Linked DNA regions of Homo sapiens: all the other regions are linked to region 3. Evidence: promoter capture Hi-C in 16 types of primary human blood cells and fetal thymus (Javierre and others, 2016). All regions are on one chromosome and are shown on one strand. Each heading gives the region's core, a stretch centred on a gene start or on the middle of the fragment in contact. The rest is flanking DNA. Distances are from core to core; before and after follow the strand shown. Region 1 overlaps PSMB2 (proteasome 20S subunit beta 2). Region 2 overlaps PSMB2 (proteasome 20S subunit beta 2). Region 3 holds the start of C1orf216 (chromosome 1 open reading frame 216).

Region 1 (3,880 bases), core at 1,381-3,880, 86 kb after region 3:
ATCTCTACAAAAAAAAAAAAAATTTTTTTTTTTTTTGAGATGGAGTTTCACTCTTGTTGTCCAGGCTGGAGTGCAGTGGCACAATCTCGGCTCACCGCAACCTCTGCCTTCCAGGTTCAAGCAATCCTCCTGCCTCAGCCTCCCAAGTAGCTGGGATTACAGGCATGTGCCACCACGCCTGGCTAATTTTGTATTTTTAGTAGAGACAGGGTTTCTCCATGTTGGTCAGGCTGGTCTCAAACTCATGACCTCAGATGATCTGCCCACCTCGGCCTCCCAAAGTTCTGGGATTACAGGTGTGAGCCACCACGCCCGGCCTTCTACAAAAAAGTTTTTAAAAATTAGCTGAGTGTGGTGGCATGCACCTATAGCCCTAGCTACTCAGGAGGCTGAGGCAGGAAGATCGTTTGAGCCCAGGAGGTCGAGGCTGCAGTGAGTTATGATTGTGCCACTGTACTCTGGAAGGCAGCAAGACTCTGTCTCTAAAAAAAATTTTTTTAAACCAACCAAAAAAAAAAAAACCCAACACCATCTTGGAGGTAGGGATGGTAGTATCAGACTTTTTAAGTGTTAGATATCTCAGAGGATGTGGTTTGAGTTTAAAAGTATCTGAACCTGGCCAGGCACAGTGGCTAGCACCTGTAATCCCAGCACTTTTGAGAGGCTGAGATGGGAGGATCACTTGAGGTCAGGAGTTTGAAACCAGCCTAGGCAACAAAGCAAGACCCTGGCTCTATAAAAAATAAAAATATTTACCTGGGTGCAGTGGTGCACACCCATAGTCCCAGCTACTCAGGAAGCTGAAGTGGGAAGATCACTTGAGCCCAGGAGTTCAAGGTCTCAGTGAGCCATGATAGTGCCACTGCACTCCAGCCTGTGCGACAGAGTGAGACCCTGTCTCAAAACAAAGAAACAAAAAAATCTGAATCTCAGCGTCAAAAAACCTAAGTAAACCTTGGCTTTACTATTTTTTATGTGATAAGTCATTTATCTTCTCTGGGACTTTATTTTCCTTATCTCTGAAATGAATTATAATACTAATGAATAATACATATGAAAATATTTTGTAAACCTAAAGCATTGTGTAACTAACTATAAGTATTTACTGTGCCATAAAAGGGTTCTGCCTTACTCTCTGGTAGGTTTCCTTCTAGAGAGATAATTAAGACTTTTGTGAAGTATTTTGTGAGCTCTCTCTGGGGCTAATGAACTCTTATCCACTGGGAAAACCTCCCTAGCAAACGATACTAGCCACTAGGCCTCTGATCCAGGAATGTTTGTAGTGGTGGTCTGGCAGAGAAAACCTTATTTCCACTTACCTCACAGTTCAATAACAACGTTATACACTGCACTGGTATAATATGGAGCTATGAAGGAAGTTAATTTGAATATACTTGCATGTGTAAAATGACCAAAGATCTATTCACATAGTTTGGGCAGTGGATTTAGCATTTGTATTCAATTCCATAAATACTTTTGAGGGCCTCTTCTATGGTAAGCATTCTGCTTAATACTTAAGAGAATTCAAAGATGAATAAGGCTTAGTCCTGACATTCAGGAACATAAAGTACATGGTACTTAGGTTTATGCAGGTTTAGAATATTTCAAGAATTCTGCTTTTTTTTCCAGTGGTTCCACTTTTTGCCTGCATAACAAATGAAGTATGTCAGTAATGCTTCTGAAGTCCAGTAGGTACTGTATGACTTCACTGGCTGTCCTGAGAGAGGGAGAAGAGTGAACAAGAGTAGCAAGAGTTGTTTGTTACTGGGTTTTAGGGTCTAAAGTCAGTGCACAGACAAAAACTGTGTTTGGTTAAAATTGCCCTTAAAGACCCTTAAATTACCTGCCAAGTACAGTTTTGTGTATGTAACTCTATATAGTAATTCTTATATAAGTTAAAGAACTGAGCTAAAATAAGGGAAAGAAAGAGAAAATCTATATGCAGATAATCAGGCATGACTTTTCTGCCTTTAGGATAATGGTCAGATCTTCAGTGGTGTTTAGGGGGTTAAGTAAAGAATTGAATAGTATTCCCACTTGTCTAGGTTCCTTCTTTTTTTTTTTTTTTCTTTTTTGAGTCAGGGTCTCGTTCTGTTGCTCAGATTGGAGTGCAGTGGTGCAGTCTCAGCCCACTGCAACTTCCAGCTCCTGGGTGCAAGTGATTCTCGTGCCTCAGCCTCCTGAGTAGTTGGGATTATAGGCATGCACCGCCATGCCTGGCTAATTTTTTGTATTTTAAGTAGAGACAGAGTTTCGCTATGGTGGCCAGGCTGGTCTTAAACTCCTGTCCCCAGGTGATCCACCCACCTGGGCCTCCCAAAGTGTTCTGGGATTACAGGTGTGAGCCACTGTGCCTGGCCTCTTTTTTTAAATTATTATTATTATTTTTGTTGTTGTTGTTGAGACAGGGTCTCACTCCTGTCGCCTGGGCTGGAGTGCAGTGGCACAATCATGGCTCATTGCAGCCTCGAATTCCCAGGCTCAGGTGATCCTTCCACCTCAGCCTCCCAACTACCTGGGAAAACAGGTGTGCACCACCACCCCTGGCTAATTTTTATATTTTTAGTAGAGACGGGGTTTCATCATGTTGCCCAGAATGGTCTTAAACTCCTGGGCTCGAGTGATCTGCCTGCCTCCGCTTCCCAAAGTGCTGTGATTACAGGCATGAGCCACTGCACCTGGCCAAGGATTGCTTTCATTATGATTTAATATGCACTAATAGACTTGTGAGGATAAAGTACAATAATACATGTGAAAACACTCAGCATAGACCCTGAAACATAGTTGCTGCTCAATAAATATTTGTTAGGATTTGAATCTGAATCTCTCCTAATTTGACAGTGGTATTTGAAATGTTGTAAGCAATTACTTAACCACACTGCTGTGTGTCTTTCCATACTGACATTTTCTGTGTGGGCCCACTGAGTTATGGATCATTCTTGTGCCTTTTGGCACTGGTCCCATTCTACAGGGGGATTAAGCTCCAAAGTGAATGCGTTATTACATGCACACCTGATGCTATTCCTCTGGGTTGTACCTTTGTTGGTATGACAACTTTTATTTTTGAAGTTTTAACACTTGAGATACTCTATTTTTAAAAATACTGCAGAATGATGGAAATGTTCTTTTTCTGTGGCTTATACTTTTGAAAGTCATATTATACTTCTTAATAAAGTAACATTTAAAATATTTTTTTAATAAACTATGACTCTGAGGTAGTCCTAACTTCTAGCCTCTCTTTTCCCAATATCCTTTTTGTTCCTGTTTTCGTTTTTTTAGAGACAGGGTCTTGCTCTGTCACCCATGCTGTAGTGCAGTGGCACAGTCATAACTCACTTGAACTTCTGGGGTCAATTGATCCTCTCCACTCAGCCTCCTAAGTAGCTGGGATTACAGGCATGTACCACCATGCCTAGAAATTTAAAAAAAAATTTTTTTTAGAGATGGGGGTCTCACTATGTTGCCCAGGCTAGTCTCAAACTCCTGGGCTCAAGCGATCTTCCCACCTTGGCTTCCCAAAGCTCTAGGATTACAGGCATGAGCCACTGTGACTGGCCCCCAATATCCTTTTTAAAATAAACTTTTAAAAGATTGGCATCTAAGACGCCTTTCTTTTTTTTTCACTTCTTGTGTATTCGTGTTCCTTTCCTTCTACGGCAGAAACCACAGTGTGTTGATGAATGAATAGTTTAAGCAAGGCTGCTAGAAGTTTCATTCCACTATAGAACTGGTTCTGTTTGTGGCCAAGAATTGCTGTCAGTACTAACCAGCTATTTCATAGCTGTTGCATGAGGAAAGGGACTAGAGTAGGATTGTACCCCTCAGTCTATGCTTTGTTTACTCTGAGTGTACAAAAGATGGTGGGCTTTAGGAACAGGGG
Region 2 (3,801 bases), core at 141-2,640, 110 kb after region 3:
CTAGATTATATCATGTACAGAATAGAGATTTCATTTTAAAAGATTCTTGGTAATCTTTGCGAAGGATTACTTTGTAAGAGATTCTTTGTCAAGAGGATCACTGGCAGTGCTCTCATTATTGATTAATGTTTTCATTTCCCCAGATAATTAGGCAAATCCTTAAGTATGTAACATCATGGGGAACTAAGGGAACTGATGAAAAACTGTCTAGAAAGTAGCTTTACCACTCAGAGTAGACACATTTGGAAGGGAAGAAATGACATGGTTAGGGAGGGTTGACCATGAAGTAGATATGCTCTACGTGTCTAGTACAAATGCTTGTGACACTGAACACCATTACCCTAGGGCCCCTGGAAAGAGTCCCAGGAATGAGAGAGGAGGAAACTCATTTACTGACTGCTTTTCTACCATGTGTCAGGCACTGTGCTGGGCACTAACATCCTTCCATATCCCTTTATGAAGACACATAGGAATTTCCCTCGTATCTCAGTGCCAGAAGTAGTTGGGCTTCTCCTGAGTACTTGCATTGTTTATAGAGTCTTTACTGTTTCGGGCATTACACTTATTATCCACATGCATTATCTTTTGGAATCCTCACTGCAGCAACCCTTTTGTAGTAGGGATCATCCCATGTTTTAAATGAGAAATTAAAATTCAGAGAGATTAAATGACTAACTTTTCTAAAGTCACAGCCCAACTCTTTCTTATTTATTTATGCTATTGGTCTCCTCTTTGTTCAGTTCTGAATGCCTGGCCTGTATCCTAAGCTTTTCTTTACTTAGCACCCTGTGTCTAGAGGGAGGTAGAAAGAGAAGGACCCAAGCCTAGCAAAAAGCAACAATAGATGTACATTCATGGAGATGCTGGCAGTTGACTTAAACTTGAACCACTTCTCAGAAGTAGCACTTATTGCTTTCTCACATTTGTTTAGTGACTTTTCTTTTTATTTGGTAGAAATAGGGTCTTACTCTGTTGCTAGTCAGTCTGTAGTACAGTGGGGGGATCATAGTTCACTGTATGCCGGGGCTTAAGGATCCTCCTGCCTCAGCCTTCCAAGTAGCCCCCTAACCTAGATTTTTTTTTTTTTTTCCCATAGAGACAGGGTCTTGCCATCTTGCCTACACTGGTCTTGAACTCCTAGGCTCAAGCAGTCCTCTCACCTTGGCCTCCCAAAGTGCGGGATTACAGGCATGGGCCACTGTGCTCAGCCAAGCCAGAGATCTTTGGTGGAGCATTGTCAGAAGAATTTTACAAACTGCAAGTTGTTGCACAGATGTATTGATTTAATTAGTCTAGATAACACCATTTATTTATGCTTAAGCATCTCACACATGCAAAAGTTGGTAATTCAAAGTCACACAATAATTTGTGAGTTATCTTCAATACCAGGAGTTGTAGCTTCTGAATACCAACTTTGGTAAGTATATGTGTGCGTCAGATGCCTAAGCATGAGTAAATGATACTATATAGACCAATTAAGTGATGGAGTTTGCTTCTGAAATTCTGTTGACATCCTATTTCATCTAAAATTTTCTGGTAGTGGATTTTAAATAACATTTATTGTTCTAAACAATTTAATCTCATAGTATGGACAAGATCTTCATTGAAGACAAAACATCTGGGTTCTAACAAGGCCTCTTTGAGTATCTGGGGGAATACTTAATATACCATTGCAACTTGATGAAATTGTCTTGGCTAAGTATACAGTGAGTGTTCTGGCTAGTTAGTAGAGAAGAGTAGAGATTATCCTCTTAGCAAAAAGATTTAACTTACTTTGTGATAGGTAAAAGACTGTATTATTAATTCTCTTGGGGAGGGATACCAGTTTCTCTTTGCTATTCTGCCTCTTTTCCTCCCTCTTTCTCTCTTCTAATTTTAACTGTAAGAACACCAAGGTATTCTATGTCTGCCAGATTTTGCAGTACTGTTTTCACACTTATATATAACTAATAGCATTTTTAAAATCTGTAGCTAATTTAAGCAGGTTTGTTGTTGTTTAAAGTGATAAGCTTTCAAAAAGAGACTGGGATGTAGTTATGTAGTAGGAATTTTGGTAGCATCTTTTCTTCCAGAGTTTGGGTTGTTTTACCGTTATTATTTTTTCTCATTATATTTCCTAGAAGATAGAAAGGAGAAAGATTAATTAACCCAGTTTTACATGTTAAAAAAAAAAAAACCCAGAAGCTCATAGGGGTTAAGTTTTTTGCCTAAGGTCAGCTTTACTAAGAAGGTACTCAGAATGCACAGAGAATTCCAGAGCTTGGCAGAGTGCCGCACGCTACTCATTGGGAAATACAATAGGCAGATAATTATTTTCTCAGAAGTCTTGACTGCTGGTCAACTTATTTCTCTCTGGGACTACCCACTGTCCTATCACTAAAACAGAAACTTATTTGGAGGTGAGGACTACTCTGTAATCTCCAGGCGATGTTAGGAACCCTTTCTACTTAGCACAGCTGGCTTAGAATTCCAAGTAAGTATATAATATGAGTTTCATGCTAGGCACGGTGGCTCAAGACTGTCATCCCAGCACTTTGGGAGGCCAAGGTGGAAGGATTACTTGAGCCTAGAAGTTGAAGGCCAGCCTGGGCAACATAGTGAGACCCCATCTCTCTCTCTCTCTCTCTCCTTTTTTTTTTGGAGATAGAGTCTTGCTCTATTGCCCAGGCTGGAGTGGTGCAGTAGCACTATCTCGGCTCACTGCAGCCTCTGCCTCCCAGGTTCAGGCGATTCTCATGCCTCAGCCTCCCAAGTAGCTGGGATTATAGGCTCGTGCCACCACGCATGGCTAATTTTTGTATTTTTCGTAGAGACAATATTTCACCATGTTGGCCAGGCTGGTCTCAAACTCCTAACCTCAAGTAATCTGCCCGCCTCGGCCTCCCAAAGTGCTGGGATTACAGGCATGAGCCACCGTGCCCGGCCAAGACTTCATCTCTTAAAAAAATAATAATAAATCAGCAGGGCATGGTGGTAGGTGCCTATAGTCGTAGCTGCTCAGGAGGCTGAGGTGGGAAATTCACTTGAGCCTAGGAGTTTGAGGCTGCAGCGAGCTATGATTGCACCACTGCACTCCAGCCTGGGCGACAGAACAAAAGCCTGTTACTCCCCTCCCAACCCCTCCCCCCAAAAAAAGCAAAAACCATGAGTTTTTTAAGGCTGCCAAGTGGCCGTGTTAATCAGTGTTCAAAGAATGTTAAATGCCACTTTTAGGACCATTAGCTATTACACTTCATGCTTCATAATGAGGTGTCTCACTTACTGTGCGTTTAATTAAATACATAGACAAATTTAGGGATGGGGACATATCCATGGGCAAGGCCTGCTTACTACCCGCTGAAGCAAAGGCAAGAGGAGAAACACATCCTGCAGAGAAAAAGAAAGCCATATAAAATGGAAGTCCCACCCCTGATGCCTGGGGGCATAGACAGACTGAATTTAACATGGTAAATGGCGCAGCTGGTGTAGAAAAAAAAAATCATCCATTTGGAGATGAAGAGCAACGCAGACTCAGTCATGGTTCTCTATAAAACTTATGTTTTTAGATTTGCAGGTAATACAAAGAAAGGATACCTATAAATCCAAGTTATAATTATTTTTTGTTGCTTTTTATTTGTCTCAAAATTACTTTTCAGTTAAGTCTGGTGATTTGATTTAAATATTTGAGACTTATGGCCGGGCGCAGTGGCTCACGCCTGTAATCCCAGCACTTTGGGAGGCCGAGGCGGGCGGATCACGAGGTCAGGAGTTCGAGACCAACCTGGCCAACATGATGAAGCCCTGTCTCTACTAAAAATACGA
Region 3 (3,621 bases), core at 594-3,093:
CGCCTGTAATCCCAGCACTTTGGGAGGCCGAGGTGGGTGGATCACAAGGTCAGGAGATCAAGACCAACCTGACCAACATGGTGAAACCCCATCTCTACTAAAAATACAAAAATTAGCTGACGTGATGCATGCACCTGTAATCCCAGCTACTCAGGAGGCTGAGGCAGGAGAATCGCTTGAACCCGGGAGGTGGAGGTTGCGGTGAGCCGAGATTGCGCCACTGCACTCCAGCCTAGGCGACAGAGCGAGACTCCATCTCAAAAAAAAAAAAAAAAAAAAAAAAAGTGAGGATTTGGGTCACCCCAGGCTGAAGGCCAGGGGAACCTGAAGTGGATAAGGGAAGGGAGAAGACTTAGGCCACAGGATCTGATGTAGAAATGGGGCTGACGTCTCCACCTGTATTTTCTTAGCTGGAGGAGTGTGCAAAGTTTGAATTACTTCTGCCTTCTCCTTCTTATTTCCTTTTCCCTTTTAAAATAGTCATCATAATCATAAAAATTTCTTTTCCATTTTCCCTGTTTTTGCATATAGGATTTCTTGGTGTGATTTAATTTGCCAATTAGTCTCTAGGTTGCAGAATGGTGACTTGGAATCAAATTGAAACTGGAAGAGGGCACCTCATATATTAGGGTCAGCAATTACTGAACTCTGTTCTCTTTTATTCCAAACAGGGCCCCCAACTTCACATTTCCCCAGGGTGCAAAAGAGTGAGGGGGGTCAAGCTTCAGTAGAGTGGAGCTCTGAGAAGAATCCACTGGAGTTTGGAACCCAAGACCCTTTTTTATCACGCTGTTCCTCCTCACCTGGGCAAAAGCACTGGTACCCACTTCACAGGCATCATGGGTGGGCTCTGTGTCCTGCGGAGAGCCCCCGTCCCGGGTACAGGACATCAGCCCTGAGCCCTGTCCCAGGCTTGGATCTTCTTTCTCTCTCTCTCTTTTTTTTTTTTTTTTTTTTTTTTTTTTTGAGACGGAGTCCCACTCTGTTGCCCAGACTGGAGTGCAGTGGTGCAGTCTTGGCTCACTGCAACCTCCACCTCCCAGGTTCAAGCGATTCTCCTGCCTCAGCCTCCCAAGTAGCTGGGATTACAGGCGCCCGCCACCAAGCCCGGCTAATTTTTGTATTTTTAGTAGAGATGGGGTTTCACCATGTTGGCCAGGCTGGTCTCAAACTCCTGACCTCAGGTTATCTGCCCGCCTCGGCCTCCCAAAGTGCTGGGGTTACAGGCGTGAGCCACCGCACCCGGCCTCAGTGACTTTAGTCAAGTAAGCACAAAAAGGAATATATAATTCCAAATTGTGATAAATGCTATGAAGAAAAGGAATGTGCTCTGACATAAAGGGGGGAACGAACGTGATCTAGGGAGTCAGAGATCTCTCCGAGAAGAGATCTGAAATAGGAGTAAGTCGAGAGGGGGAAGAGAATGCTAGACCGAGGGAACAGTGCGTGCCAAAGCCGCGTGGCGGAAAGGGGCGTGTGGGAGGGTAACTGCGGAGAGGGAGGGTAGAGGACGAAGCCGGAGAGGCAGACGAAGGGCAGGACGCACAGAGCCCCGCGGCTACCGCCTTAGGGGTTGTCCCGGCGGTGGGGAAGCCATTGAGGAGTTTAACGCCGGAAGGTGGTGACTAATCAGATTTCACTTGAAAATGGCACGGTGTCTGCAGCGAGGCTAACTGATGGGAAGGGCCCAGCGAATGCCAATAGGAGAGAGCACCGGACCTGGAAGGCCTGGGTCAACGCGGCCCCGCGCGGGGGCGAAGCGGTTCCGGCGCAGGGGCCTGGCGCGGGGCTCCGCGGAAAACCGAACCGGCCCACGTGGGACCGGTCGCTCCGCCCTGCTGCGCAGACGCCGCCTGACTCCGCAGTCCGGGACTGGGGCTGGGCGCGCTGCCCGGGAGCCCCGCACCCACGCCTGGACCGCGGAGACGCCCAGGCCGAGGAACCCCCAGCCCAGGGACTAGACACCACCAGGGCCGGGCGGAGCCAGAGCCAGACGCGCCGGAGCGGGCGCCTCTACGCCGTGAGTCCGAGTCTGGGGCCCGAGGCGGGGTGGGGCTTGGGGCTCAGCCGCGGGAAGCGGGGAGTCACAGTGGCCTCCTTCGAGGAGACTAGGGAAGGATGGTCTCTGTCTCCTGGGGTGGTCTCCCACTCCCGCAAGGCCAGAAAAGGAGGCTGCCTCCTGTTTGGGCGGAGACCTAGTCCTGGCGTGTCGGGGTTCTCATTTTACTATCTCTGAGAACCCTGTGATCCCTAGCGCCACCCCCACCCCATCCCAGCTTCCTTCACGGCCCCATCCAAGTATAGGAAAAATAAAAAATTGGGGCGAGGGGAGATCTCTAGGCACCTTCCCACAAGCCTTGCTTAGAGGGCGATTAGAAACGAACTGTTCCTACACCCTTCTCCCCAGGACTTCTCTGCCCATTGCTGGGGGTGGGGAGGGTCCATGCCACCTATGGAGCGCCTTCCAGTGCCGGCTCCACTTACAATACCCTTCCTCTTCATGCTCTTCAATTGTTCTAATCCCAGTGCTGTTTGGTCAGTAGAATCCCTTTGTCAGTTCAAATCCTAATTTTGGTTAGAAGCAGGTTATGGAGGAGAGAAGAGTGGTGTGGTATGCCCTCCCTCCAGGGCCTCAGAATGGAGCAAGCTAGGGACGGGGACCGCAAGATAGTGGCTGTGTTCCAGAGGCATTGGGAGGGAAGGGGGCAGGCTCAGAAGAAAAGCTTGTCACTGGGGAAGGCGGGGCTCCCTGGCTGGGGTAGGAAAGGGAACCAAACCCAGCTCTTCCAGAACCCAGCTCTTCCAGCCCTGGGGAGTCAAGAGTGGATTCCTGAGCATGGAAATTCACTGCAGTCTCTTCTCCCATTCACTCACTTAGCAAGTACCTGTATGCACAGACAGCCTGGTTCAGGGCTCTATGCTGGCTGACTCTGGGGAATATGATGGAGGATATATACAGGAGGTCCAAGCCAGATTACAAACTGCTATTACAAGATCATTACCACAAACCAAAAATGCCAGTTGAATAGACATTCACTGATCGTCGACCATGTATGCCAGGGACGGATGCAAAGTTGGATAAGACAGTGTATACCCAGCGCAGTGGGGACCCAGAGGAAGGCATAACTAACCGTGCTTGTTTATGTAATATTGATTGGGGCAGTATCAAGACGGCTTCAGAGACATGGGGACATGGAAACATGGGGATATTACAGCTAATTTTGAAGTACAAAAAGGAATTTGCTGGGTGGAGAAGGGAGGAGCTTTGAGGGGAGGGGAGAGGAAGGATATTGTAGGCCAAAGGAATACTGTAAGAAAAACAATGGTGTGTTTTGAGATCTCTGGGCAGTTTGCTATGATGGGAGGGGCAGAGTGGCAAGAGGCAGGTATGGAGGGGTGAGCAGGGGCCAGATCAAACAGGGTGTTGTAGGCCAGGTAGAGGTTTAGCAGGAATTCAGGGAGGGCATTAGGAGTGGTGACAAGTGAAATTTACATTTTTAACTGGAGGCAGAGAGATCAGTGAAAAGGCCGAGGCAATAATCCAGGTCAGAAATGGCCTGGAAGAGGAAGAATGGTCAGAATGTGGTTATTAATGAGATGGGAGAAGGAAGGATAGTGAGG

What was found. Contacts are between HindIII fragments. The CHiCAGO score rates a contact against its expected background, and 5 or more counts as called.
Region 1: a fragment that was not itself captured here is called in contact with the fragment with the promoter of C1orf216 in region 3 in 1 of 17 cell types (megakaryocytes); the score reaches 8.7 in megakaryocytes.
Region 2: a contact is called between a fragment that was not itself captured here and the fragment with the promoter of C1orf216 in region 3, in 3 of 17 cell types (endothelial precursors, megakaryocytes and M1 macrophages). The highest score is 5.9, in endothelial precursors.

What each region holds. Positions count from the first base shown.
Region 1 is chr1:35,631,416-35,635,295 of GRCh38, reverse strand. The region is part of intron 2 of PSMB2 (proteasome 20S subunit beta 2); the gene reads left to right. Among named protein-coding and RNA genes, the nearest start is that of PSMB2, 8.2 kb to the left of the region's middle. The HindIII fragment of the contact is 9,875 bases long and covers 1-3,880 here.
Region 2 is chr1:35,610,666-35,614,466 of GRCh38, reverse strand. The region is part of intron 3 of PSMB2 (proteasome 20S subunit beta 2); the gene reads left to right. Among named protein-coding and RNA genes, the nearest start is that of PSMB2, 29 kb to the left of the region's middle. The HindIII fragment of the contact is 1,242 bases long and covers 770-2,011 here.
Region 3 is chr1:35,717,106-35,720,726 of GRCh38, reverse strand. It overlaps C1orf216 (chromosome 1 open reading frame 216), which reads left to right and starts at 1,843. Exons shown (of 2, transcript NM_152374.2): 1 at 1,843-2,020. It also overlaps a transcript of CLSPN not described here. RefSeq lists silencers at 1-19, 1,682-2,111. The HindIII fragment of the contact is 2,001 bases long and covers 725-2,725 here.